2 separate regions of the Homo sapiens genome follow, and region 2 is linked to region 1. The links are contacts of gene promoters, found by promoter capture Hi-C in human tissues and cell types (Jung and others, 2019). All regions are on one chromosome and are shown on one strand. The core of a region is centred on a gene start or on the middle of the fragment in contact, and the rest is flanking DNA. Distances in the headings are between cores, read along the strand shown.

Evidence for each region. The method cuts DNA at HindIII sites, captures the fragments that hold promoters and counts their contacts. A contact is called where the count stands out against the background at its distance.
Region 2: a fragment that was not itself captured here is called in contact with the fragment with the promoter of CNTN6 in region 1 in 1 of the 25 tissues and cell types used here (H1 embryonic stem cells).

Annotation. Positions count from the first base shown.
Region 1 is chr3:1,090,759-1,097,229 of GRCh38, reverse strand. It overlaps CNTN6 (contactin 6), which reads right to left and starts at 4,206. Exons shown (of 23, transcript NM_001289080.2): 1 at 4,110-4,206. The HindIII fragment of the contact is 3,264 bases long and covers 1,941-5,204 here.
Region 2 is chr3:895,396-901,866 of GRCh38, reverse strand. All of the region lies in intron 2 of LOC107986059 (a long non-coding RNA gene), which reads right to left. Among named protein-coding and RNA genes, the nearest start is that of CNTN6, 190 kb to the left of the region's middle. The HindIII fragment of the contact is 4,490 bases long and covers 105-4,594 here.

The sequences.
Region 1 (6,471 bases), core at 2,957-5,456:
CAGACTTCATCAATATAAACTAATAGGGGACATTATCAGAAGGCATGCCCAATGGCTCTGTTTTTCCTCTACTATGTCCTGTGTTACGCCTTTACCGTAATAAATGTTTAATACTACAACACATCATGCAGATGAACTCAGTCTTAACTAGAACAGCTCTTTTCAATATGAATACTGAGAATAACAACATTCTAATAAAATTTTCATTCAAAGAATTCCTCCAAACTGAAAGATTGCTATTTAAAACTCCTTAAATAAAGAGATTTTTAAATGTCCTCTATTGTCCCACAGAAACAATAAAGAGAAATATAAAAGGTGGCAGTGGTCGTGGTGCAGATAAAAAACGAAGCAAAAACCCTCCGTCTTCAGTGAAAATGTTAGTGGACAAAACCCCAAAACACGACTTGAAGCCCATTTCCACTGTAGCCAAATACTAAAAATCATGGACCTTTGGGGGACATCAGAGAAAACCGATCAGTACTTTCTTTTTCTCTTACTTTCAGGAGGATACAGATTGCCCAAAAACCTGCCAGCTGAGGAAATTGCTAGAGTGTTAAGAGAAGGAAACATGTATTTACAAGATCACAATACAGAAGGTTGTGCCTTAATAGGTTTATTGCAAGCTATACTATTCATTCAAGTGGCAAACAAGAGAACAAGTGGTTCTCAAATAAAGAAGATAACCAATTTGTCAATTAAAATTGAAAAGAAATTTGGATATGAAAGATGTGGAAAGTAGACAAATGAGATACAACATGTACAAAATTGGTGATCCTGAAGAAAAGAAAGAAGCAAGATAACCACAATTTGGCCACGCCCAGTTAAGGGACAAAAAAGAAATAGTACAACAAATCCTAAAATAAAAGAATCTTAAATTAATGGGGCAAACCTCAAAAAAAGTTAATGAAAATGGAACAAATCCAGGAATATTCTGTAAAAGCAAACACCCATACACACACTCACACACACACACACAACAAAAGAATCATGTAGGCATTTATCAGAAAAAAAGCAAGTCACATTCAATGACGGAAATTGCAGACAGACCTAAAAATGTTGCAAAACAACTTTCAGTACAGGAAGGGTCTCCAAAAATGTTTAAACATTTACACATTTCCAAAAGAAAAAATTAAGCTTGATCCAAGAAAGATAACGTATCTTGCATGTCTAAGGCAAAAGAAATACATGTTCAAGATGCAAACTCATAGAAAATATAGCACCTATGACTATTTCTTTGGTGGAGAGGTACTACTTACTGAAATCTAACAACCCAAAAAATAATTGAAAATAAAGAACACAGAAATGGTGAATTGGGTAGTAAAAGCCTGTTGATAAAGGATAATTCCTTACAAATTTGAAATAAGTTTAAACTGAGACCATGGGAATTCAGCCAGAATGTATGTACTCAGTAATGTAAAACTGATGTAGTTTAAATTGAGGTGGTATGGGTGGAGTTGATGACAAGTCACATTGCAAATGCATTTAACTATCATAACAAGGGTTATAAAAGTTTGTTTACTATTTAAACGTGCATCCAAAAAAATCTTCAAACTATTTCTATTTTCAAAATTTTTGGTCTTAACTGTAAGGGTATTATTCTGGACATAATATCTCCATTGGAGAGAAATCTATACATGAAATTTAACAATTTCTTCAATGTTGTTTCAACTTCTCTTTTTTCAGTTTAATTAAAATCTAAAATCAAAAATTAAACTCAATGTTTCTGTTTTCTGTTTTCTGTTTGTTTGTTTGTTTGTTTGAGATGGAGTTTCACTCTGTCACCCAGGCTGGAGGGCAATGGCGCGATCTCTGCTCACTGCAAGCTCCGCCTCCCGGGGTCAAGTGATTCTCCTGCCTCAGCTTCCTGAGTAGCTGTGACTACAGGCACACGCCAAAACGCCCAGCTAATTTTTGTATTTTTAGTAGAAATGGGGTTTCACCATGTTGGCCAGGATGGTCTCAATCTCTTGACCTCGTGATCCGCCCGCCTCGGCCTCCCAAAGTGCTGGGATTATAGGTGTGAACCACCGCGCGCGGCCAATATTTCTGTTTTTTTTTAAGTGTAGGATAAGATCTCATTCTTACAGAAGAGTATCTATTATTGACTATATTATCTAAATATTTATTATTTATTTTTTAAAAGGTGTATAGTAAGAAACCATTCTTACAAAAGTATTTATCTCTCATCTTATCTGAATTTAGGCACCAGTATGTCTCCAATGATAGTCGCCAAATTTCATGATTGTTATTTACAGGTGATGGGTTTTCCCTTTTGAACTTTTATGTATAGTTTGAGTCATTTTTAATAGGTAGAACTTATACTTCTGCATTCCAATTAATATGTTATTAAAATAAACAGTGAATAAATAAGCAAATATTTTGTATTCCTTCTCCTCACATAAAAGAATTTAAAAGGTACAAATTTACTATTATACTACTGAGCATTTTTACTTACTAAAAAAAAAACCCAGAAGTATGCAATCAATTTAATATACCACACATCCTTTTCACAACATAATTGATTTTTTTTAGAGGGGGTTCTAAACTCAGAGAAAATATGTGATCCTTTTCTAAGTAAACAAGTGAATTTGTTTTCATTAAGGAAAGCTACATAAAAATTCTAAAAAAAAATTCTGGTCCTTCACTACAAATATTCAAAGGAAGTAATGCAATGAAGTCATTTATAAATGATTGACTTTTTTGCTAAGATGTGATAAGTTATGCATTTATATAACCTCACATAAAGCTTTATATAAAAGTTTCCACATTTATATATTTGAAATCTTTGGACTGCACAGCCATGATTATTGCTTAAAAAAAGAAAAAGAAACCCCACTGAAACATCAAAGATGAAATGCTTCTGTATTTCTTTTTTTTTACACAAATTGTGTAAGTATTTTTGTATGTTTATGTTTGTTTTGTGAACATGCGTATGTTTACACATGTGTGTGAAGGAGGAGGGAAAAAGAGTCTGCTTAAACATTTCTTTCCTTATAAAATACAATGCACATAAATTGGTGAAACCTTCAACAACAAAAATAAAAAGATGATAAACCCATCAGATAAATGAAAATTGCTCAAAACAAGCAATTCAATATTCAGCATATGCTTCTTCTTTTACAGACATCTTCAGAAAACATTGCCACTGTAGATAAAATTATGAATACCTCATTTTCCAAATTGATTCTGTGTGATTCTACTGTTCACTCTATTTTTTCTCAGTATAACTTCTATTTAGTCATTCTGTGAATGTTTCTCAGAGGACATAGTCAGGATGCTGATTATTTAAACATAAGTAGTTTTCATTTGGAGAAGCAAAAACTATGAATTCCAATTTTCCCCCCAAACCCCAATGTTACAGTATCCCATTAACATAATGGGTTATACGTGGCTAATCTCAGAGCTCTTAAAAGTTTTGTTCCCAAGTCATCAACTTCTGAAAGTTTTCATAAAGTATTATAAGAACCTTAATACTGACAACTTAACTGGTGTAAATGGTAAAGGAAACTCCAGAGGCTGTTATCTAGAAGCTGGGTATAAAGCAAAATGCCAGACAAAATTTGGTGAGCCCATATGACCTCCAGTCTTGCTTTGCTCCCCTTACCAAATTCTCCCCTAGGAAACTTTATAACCATTCTTTTAAATCATCCGGTGAGAACTGCAAACCCCACCCCTCATCCCTTTGATTAAAAAAAAAAAAAAGACAAAAAACATTTAGCGATCACATTTTCCCATCTGCCGTTACAGAAAGGGCGTGTAGCCATCTGAAAGTCCCAGAATTAGCACTGTCATCCCGTCTTGCCCATTAGTTTTACTGCAGCAAAGACTAGTGAAACACTGAGAAATATACCTGTAGTCTTTCTTTCCCTGGTTTGATCCTAACCTCCCGGAATACAGATTCAATACATTTCTCCCACACAAGGAATAAATGCATTTTAAACATCAGCATCATAGAAACACAGCATCAATAAAGCAGTGACTTCTCCCCCAACCCCAGCTTTTACCTGTTATGCTAATACAAAGACATTGAAAGGAAGAAAAGCTGCAGCTTGCCCAGCAATATTCTCATTGCAGCAGACACAGCACAATTTTGTACTTACAGATCTTACCAGGGAAATGTCTCGGGATCTTTACAGTTTTTCTGCAGAACTCTGTTTCAAGCTCTCAGCCAGGCATGCTGTGCGTCCAGGCAGAACCAAGCCGTATGGAATGTCTATGCAGCTGGGAGATAATGGGACTCTTTTTCCCAGCTGGGACTGCAAGCCTTTTATCCACTGAGTATTGCGTGGCTCTTCTCTGGTCTTAAGCATGAAATACGCTCCTCTCCTGCTGCATTCCTGTCGGAGCCAGACAATCAGTTCTTGAGGCACATGTGCAAAGCTCTCGTTTGGAATATTCAAAAGGAAAATTCTTTCTACATTGAAAGCCAGCTCTATCTTCATCAACCTTCACAGAATCAGAGAGAGCTGAGAGCAGCTGCCATTCCAGGGCCATGAAAGATTAAATTCACCCTCCTCTTTCTTTGACTGGAGATAGTCACTCCTGTCGGGTCATCAGAAAATCTCTCTTATTGAAAACTGGGTCAGACTAACTACTTATTAGGTTTCCAACAGGAAAGGAAGTAATTTTTTTCTTCCTCTGGTTTCACTGCATTGTCATTTGCAAGCAAAGATTAAGCTGGTCAAGGGTCTGCACTGATTTAGACAGTATTCAAATGTAAGCTTTTTGAAGCATGCCAGTAACTCCTATTAGTGAAGGTGAAGAGAAAAGGGAAATAAAATCAAATGATTGTATGCACTATCACTAAAACCTTTATAAGTTGTATTTTTTAAATGTGTGTATGAGGCTTCTTAAAGACAGGTAAAGAAAGTGAAGTCAAACAAGTCCAAAAGAGTATTGCTGCTTTCCGAGTAACATATTTGTAATTCCAGAGGCAGAGAACAAGTGTCTATGTGTTTGCCTAAGAGCTCTGTAAGAAGAAGAATTGTTTTTGTGTTTCACCCTGGGCCCTCCAACTAAACTTTTTAATATGTTTGGGTCTTGTCATCGGGTTTTGAAGGGACTAACTGCTTGAAGGATGAAAACTAAGGAATAGGAATTACACATACATGCACACTGAGACTCTAGTGCATACAAACATAACTATAACATGAGAAAAGAATGATAGTTTGGACTTATTTTCATGTTGGCATACAAAGAAATTATACTCTTAGCATCTTAAAGTAAGTGGATACTGAGAAAATGAAATCCCCAAATCAAATGGAAATAAGTCAAAAGATATTTCTTGGCCTCAGTTTACTTTCATCTGATGAGCAAGAAGGTTTCTATGACTACATTTTATGACTATGTCCTATGGATTTCTTCACAGGGTCTAACCAACATTATAAGAGGCTTTAGAAAGGAGATGATGCTTCCTAACACAAGGTAAACTCAAAATGGGCTACCCTATTGTTTCTCCCAATTCATAAGAAGGCAAACTAGACTAATAATTTTATAGAAAGAATATCTGTTTTTATTGCCTCTTTTTTTTTTTTTTAAAAAAAATAGAAGTATTTCTTGCTCTGTAGGAATAAAAATATATTTTATTTGTAAAAATGCCAAGATGACTTTTTCTGCAGAGTTTTAAGAAAAATAATCATTATGTAGTAGGCTTTATTTTTTTTTTGTGGAAAGAAATTCATTCAAGCTTAAAGAATATCCCTTTACTCAAATCTCCAACAGTCTGACTCATATTCAAGGACAGCTGATTGCTTTGCTTTCTATTTTACCCAAAAAGGAATAAGAACCAGAAGAAAACTTCAATAAGCTCCTGTCACTACATCTAGTCACATACTTGGCCCCTGTGACCACAGACTCTCCCTTCATCTTGTTACTTGAGGTGAACCGTGCTCCCTCCTTAGACCAAGCCATCCACCTGTGCTTTAGATAGTCTTCTACTCAAGGGACCATTCTACCCACTTGTCTCTCTCTGTGGAATCATCAACTCTCCCTACCTTCTGTAGCATCACAACAAAGAGATTTGCTGCTAGTTGGCCCATTTTAAAAATCAGCACCCCTTTAACATACCGTCTTCCTCTGTCTACTACTGCATTTCCTTGCTTCTGTTTATAGTAAAACACCTTGAAGGAATTCTCTGTACTTACTGTCTCCATTCATCTTTTCTCATTTTATCTTGAATCTGCTTTGATTAGTCTTTTGTCCCCACTGTTCCACATAAGTGTTTCTGGTCATAGTCAATATTAAATTACGCATAGAATAATGCAATGGTCAACTTAGTCCTAATTTTACTTGATGTATCACTCACAAGTAATACAGTTTACCAAGTACTCCTCCTTTAAGCATTGCTTTTGCTTAATTTCTTAAATTTTCTTCTCGTTTACTACCTGCTCCTTCTCAGATCCCTTTGCTGATATCTTCTCATTTTATTAATTTTTAAACACTGGGGGAGGAGGTGTGGGTATCAAGGATCTA
Region 2 (6,471 bases), core at 1,100-3,599, 190 kb after region 1:
TCTTTATATCTTCTCCCTCTGGCATTCTTATAATGCAAATATTCATTCACTTAATGGTGTCCCATAAGTAGACTTTCTTTATTGCTTTTTATTTTTGTTTACTTTTTCTCCCCTCTAATTAGGTTACTTTAAAAGAACTGTCTTCAAATTTAGAAACTGTTTCTTCTATACAAATCATAAATACATATGCTGCCAAAATGGCTAGTATGTTGTTAAACCTCTCAGTTGTACTTCTTTTATTCATTGAATTCTTCAGCTCCAAGATATCTGTTTTGTTCTTTTTTTATATCTGTCCCTCTGTTGAATTTCTCATTCAGATAATAAATTATTTTTCTTATTTCATTGAATTGTTTGTCCATATTCTCTTATATCTCATAGTTTAAAAAGAATCATTATTTTAAATTCCAGGAATTGCATAAATTTTTTTATGGGGGGCTGTTAATGTAGAATTATTATTTTCCTTTGGAAATGTCATGTTTCCTTACTTTTTCATGTTTCTTATATCTCTGCATTGATATCTGCATATCTGGTGGAACAGTTATCTTTTCCAACTTTACGGGCTAACTTTTGTAAGGAGAGACTTTTTCCTATAGGTGTGTCTAGGATGTCAGTTGAGTATGATCCATTATCTTTGGTTCTGTGTGGTTCTCTGCAGTTTCATTAGCTATAATTCTCATCAATGATGTCTGCAATTTCATCAGTGGCCTAGGCTACAGGAGTTTGTGATTGTAATGGCTCAGTTTTGTTAGGGGCAACGCTACCAGCCTCACTGTTTAGACAGACTTGCATGGTGGGCCAGCTGGCTATGTAGTGGACTTTCCAGGGCTGCAGGGCCACCCCTAGTCTGGCTGTCAGGCATGGCTTACATAGGTATAGTGGGCTGGCCAACTCTGAGGTGGGTTCTTCAATGGGTGGGGCTGCTGCCATCCTTCCTGTTGGGTCAGGCACACAGGCACCACAGGCCAATCAGCTGCTTGTTGGCTTTCTTGCTGTGCAGATATGCCTGTTTCCCAGGGAGGAGGGGATGTTGCATGGATTTGGGCCATTCCACTGGGCCTAAGCTTAAAGTAGCTGGGGTTGTAGTTCTGTGGCCTTCCTTGTGAGCATGGTGGAATGATGCTGGGGCCTCAGGGATGGAGAGACACAGTGGCTACTGGCCCCCAGAGTAGGACATACTCTAGCAGTCAGTCTGGTTTCAGGATGGTACTATGCAGTTCCAACTTAGGTCACGGGAGTTGGTGGGTATACGAAATGGGCTCCTAGTATAGGGCAACACAGCTATGTGAACTCCAGAAAGCTCCCCAGATAGAATTTGTTGACTGTGAGGCTTGCAGGACCCTCCCGTAGCAGCCTGCAGGCATCTGCAGTAGTAATGGGGACAACTGGTGTCTCCAGCTTACCTTTTCTCGATAAGCAGTAGCCCCTCCTGGCTATGAGCCAATCCCAGTGAGGGAACAATTTGGTAGAGTTTGTGTGTCTCCCTCTTCTTTTATGGTTCTATCCTGAGTTTCTGTGCTTCACAGGGATTTTTTCACTCCCCTTATGTTCCCCAGCATACTTCCTCAGTAACTTCCACTGAAATATAGTTGTTCATTTGTTATGTTGGAGGGGAACCCCACAACCCTTTTTGTGGGGATGAGTGCCAAACAACTCTGATTGACCATCTTGCTAACATTACTCTCCCTGTTCTATTTCTAAATTAAATTTAAAATGTATAGAAATAAATGCAAGATTTAGAAACTACATATTGGCAAATCTGCCTTCTCACTGCCAATAAGACACACACTCGAATTTAGTCTTCAGCAAGGGTGTAATATACAAAGGGCTAGACCTCAGAAAATATGCGTTTGAGTCCTAATTCTGGCCCCAATTTTAAAATCAATTATCCTTAGAACTTAATCTTTCTGAGCCTCTTTTTTTCTCCTGTGGTATGCAAAATGAATGTGAAGTTGATGACTATTAAATTATAAATTTCATTTATTCTACGCTAACCCTATTTTAAAAATCAATAAATATGTTACCTATGATTCAGCAAAGAACACTAGTATCAGTCAGTTTAATGTATTAAAGGATTCTTAAGTCTTTCATATATTAAAACTTATTTTCATTCTACAATGGTTATTGTTTTGTGTTTTTCTTACTAAACTATATCTTAATTTTATGTCATGTAATTGCATTAATTTTTATCAAAAATAATTACTGCAGAAAAAAGTTACTATAATTTTAACATAATTATTAAACTTCAGCTTACTATTTTAAAAACTACTTATTTATTTTGCTGTCAGACAAAATAGCACTTCTTATTTTTAGGCCTTAGTTTTTTTTTTAATTTTATTATTATGATACTTTAAGTTTTAGGGTACATGTGCACAACGTGCAGGTTTGTTACATATGTATACATGTGCCATGTTGGTGTGCTGCACCCATTAACTTGTCATTTAGCATTAGGTATATCTCTTAATGCTAGGCCTTAGTTTTAAACAGATTAAAATAATATTTTTAAGTGGTAAAAGAATAGATAGATAGATAGATTAGATATCTATATATATTCAGAAAGTAATTAGTATAGAAGTAAAAAAAAAGTGACAGTGTAGTGTTATACCTTTCTTGGCCCATTAGAAAAAGAATAACATAATCTAAGTTTTCATATTTGCAAAATTGGCAAAATCATTCTAAGCTTTGGGGTCAGGTGATACTAAGGGGTATTCTGAATGATGTAAATTCTAAAAATGTGACATGTTGTTGCTTGTAATGTTTACATTATGCTTCATTCACATTCCAAGATAGACTCTATTACCATGAGGCTTAAAAATTATATAGGAATAGAGATCAATGTCTCTAAAAGAGGGCTTGTTAACCTTTGCACTATTGATATTTTGGGGCAGTTACATGTTTTGTTTTGTATTGTTTTGGTTGAAAGCTGTCTTACCTACTGTAAGATTTTTACTAGTATTTCTGGCTTCTACCTAGTTAATGCAAATACCCACTCCACCTCTACTGTTACAATCAAATATGTCTTCGGACATTACGAATGTTCCTTGTGAGACAAAGTTAGGCTTGGTTGAAAACCACTGGTCTAGAATATACTGAACTGAAAATAATTTTAATGCCATTTACAGGTGGATGAGATTGAATGCAAGTTTTAGTTAAAAAATCATTTTTGCAGTTTTATGGATAAATAATTTATAATTTATCAAATAAAGTGTATAATTCAGTGGTTTTTATTGCATTCACACATTTGTGCAACCATCATCAAACTCTGGAACATTTGTATCACTTTAAAAGGAAACACTTGTCCTCATCAGCAGTCATTCTCATTATTCCCCCACCTTCATCTATCAGTCCCAGGCAAGCACCAAAATACTTTCTAACTCCATGAACTTACTTATTACATACATTATATAAAAATGGAATTTTACAATATCTTTTTGTAAGTTTTTGTCTAGGGTGTGACTGGATTTTCACTTAGTTTTCAAGTTGAATTTATGTTTAATGTAATATGTATCAATACTTCATTTATTTTTATTGCAAAATTATATTTCATTATATGTATATAACATATTTAATTTATCCAATCATCTTTTGCTTATTCTTTAGTTACTGAGAAAAACTGCATTATTCAACTATGACTGTAAATGTAGCTATTCATTATTTTTCTTCTATTGTTTATTTATTTTGTACTTTTTTGTTTTATTCATTTTGAGATTAGGTTATTAAATGCTTACAAAGTTATTTTTGTCATCTTTTTCTGTTGTTTTATCTTTTTATCATTATAAAATTTCAAACTTTATGTATAAATATTTCTTGCTTTTCAGTATAGTTTCTTTAGAATTACAAGCTTTGTTTTGATTAGGTTTATCATGTTCCGTAATTCTACTTTCAGTCTTTCTTATTTTTGTATTAAAGACACATCTCTTATCAGCAGAACACAGTTACATTTTGTTTCAGTATTCAATTTTAAATTGTTTGCCTACGAATTGCAGGATTTTGTCCATATTAACTTAATGTAATAGCTGAACTATTTGAGTTTAAATGGACTATTCTATGAATTTTTTAAAAATTTGTCCTATCTGCATAGGCATGAGCAAAGACTTCATGACTAAAACACCAAAAGCAATTGCAACAAAAGCCAAAATTGACAAATGGGATCTAATCAAACTAAAGAGCTTCTGCACAGCAAAAGAAACTATCATCAGAGTGAACAGGCAACTAACAGAATGGGAGAAAATTTCTGCAAGCCACCAATCTGACAAAAGTCTAATATCCAGAATCTACAAGGAACTTAAACAAGTTTACAAGAAAAATCAAGCAACCTCATCCAAAAGTGGGCCAAGGATATGAACAGACATTTCTCAAAAGAAGACATTTATGCAGCCAACAAACATATGAATAAAAGCTCATCATCACTGGTCATTAGAGAAATGCAAATCAAAACCTCAATGGGATACCATCTCACACCAGTTTAAATGGTGATTAAAAAGTCAGGAAACAACAGATGCTGGAGAGGATGTGGAGAAATAGGAATGTTTTTTCACTGTTGGTGGGAGTGTAAATTAGTTCAACCATTGTGGAAGACAGTGTGGTGATTCCTCAAGGATCCAGAACCAGAAATACCATTTGACCCAGCAATCCCATTACTGGGTATATAGCCAAAGGATTATAAATCATTCTACTATAAAGACATATGCACATGTATGTTTATTGCAACACTATTTACAATAGCAAACACTTGAACCAACCCAAATGCCCATCAATGATAGACTGAATAAAGAACAATGTGGCACATATACACCATGGAATACTATGTAGCCATAAAAAAGAATGAGTTCATGTCCTTTGCCAGGACATGGATGAAGCTGGATGCCGTCATTCTCAGCAAACTAACACAGGCACAGAAAACAAAACACTGCATGTTCTCACTCATAAGTGGGAGTTGAACAATTAGAACACATGGACACAGGGAGGGGAACATCACACACCAGGGCCTTTTAGGGGGTGGGGGGCAATTGGAGGGAGAGCATTAGGACAAACACCTAATGCATGCAGGGCTTAAAACGTAGATGACACGTTTATAGGTGCAGCAAACCACCATGGCACATGTATACCTATGTAACAAACCTGCACATTCTGCACATATATCCCAGAACTTAGAGTAAAATAAAATAAAATAAATTGTCCTATCTGTTTTATATTGTCCTACTTATTTCTTTTATATTGAGAGTAGTTCATTATTACATTCTTCATTAGTTTACTATTATATAGTACATCCTTTTTGTTTTCTATGGTGAATTTCCTTAAACATACGATATATATCCTTATTCATTTCTAATATAAGATAGTAGTTTAAAGCTTCCGCAAAAATGCAAGGCATTTAGATGTTAACTCAATTTCACTCCATCTATTATGCTATTGTTGCCATGTATTCTTATTCTCTCCATATTTTAAATCCTATGTGTCAGGCCTCTGAGCCCAAGCTAAGCCATCATATCCCCTGTGACCTGCATGTACACATCCAGATGGCCAGATCCTGCCTTAACTGATGACATTCCACCACAAAAGAAGTGAAAATGGCCTGTTCCTACCTTAACTGATGACATTGTCTTGTGAAATTCCTTCTCCTGGCTCATCCTGGCTCAAAAGTTTCCCTACTGAGCACCTTGTGACCCCCACTCCTGTCTGCCAGAGAACAACCCCTCTTTGACTGTAATTTTCCTTTACCTACCCAAATCTTATAAAATGGCCCCACCCCTATCTCTCTTCACTGACTCTCTTTTTGGACTCAGCCCACCTGCACCCAGGTGAAATAAACAGCTTTATTGCTCACACAAAGCCTGCTTGGTGGTCTTTTCACATGGATGCACATGAAATTTGGTGCCATGACTCAGATCAGGAGACCTCCCTTGGGAGATCAATCCCCTGTCCTCCTGTTCTTTGCTCTGTGAGAAAGATCCACCTACGACCTCAGGTCCTCAGACCAATCAGCCCAAGAAACATCTCACCAATTTCAAATCTAGTAAGCAGCCTCTTTTTACTCTCTTCTCCAATCTCCCTCACTATCCCTCAGCCTCTTTCTCCTTTCAATCTTGGCGCCACACTTCAATCTCTCCCTTCTCTTAATTTCAATTCCTTTCATTTTCTGGTAGAGACAAAGGAGACACGTTTTATCCATGGACCCAAAACTCCGGTGCCTGTCACAGACTGGGAAGGCAGCCTTCCCTTGGTGTTTAATCATTGCAGGGATGCCTGATTATTCACCCACATTTCAGAGGTGTCAGACCACACAGGGACACCTGCCTTGGTCCTTCACCCTTAGCGGCAAGTCCCGCTTTTCTAGGGGAGGGGCAAGTACCTCAACCCCTTCTCTCCATGTCTCTACCCCTTCACCGCCTTTCTGGGGGGCAAGAAACCTCCAACCCCTTCTCCTTCACTCTTAGCGGCAAGTCCCGCTTTTCTAGAGGAGGGGCAGGAACC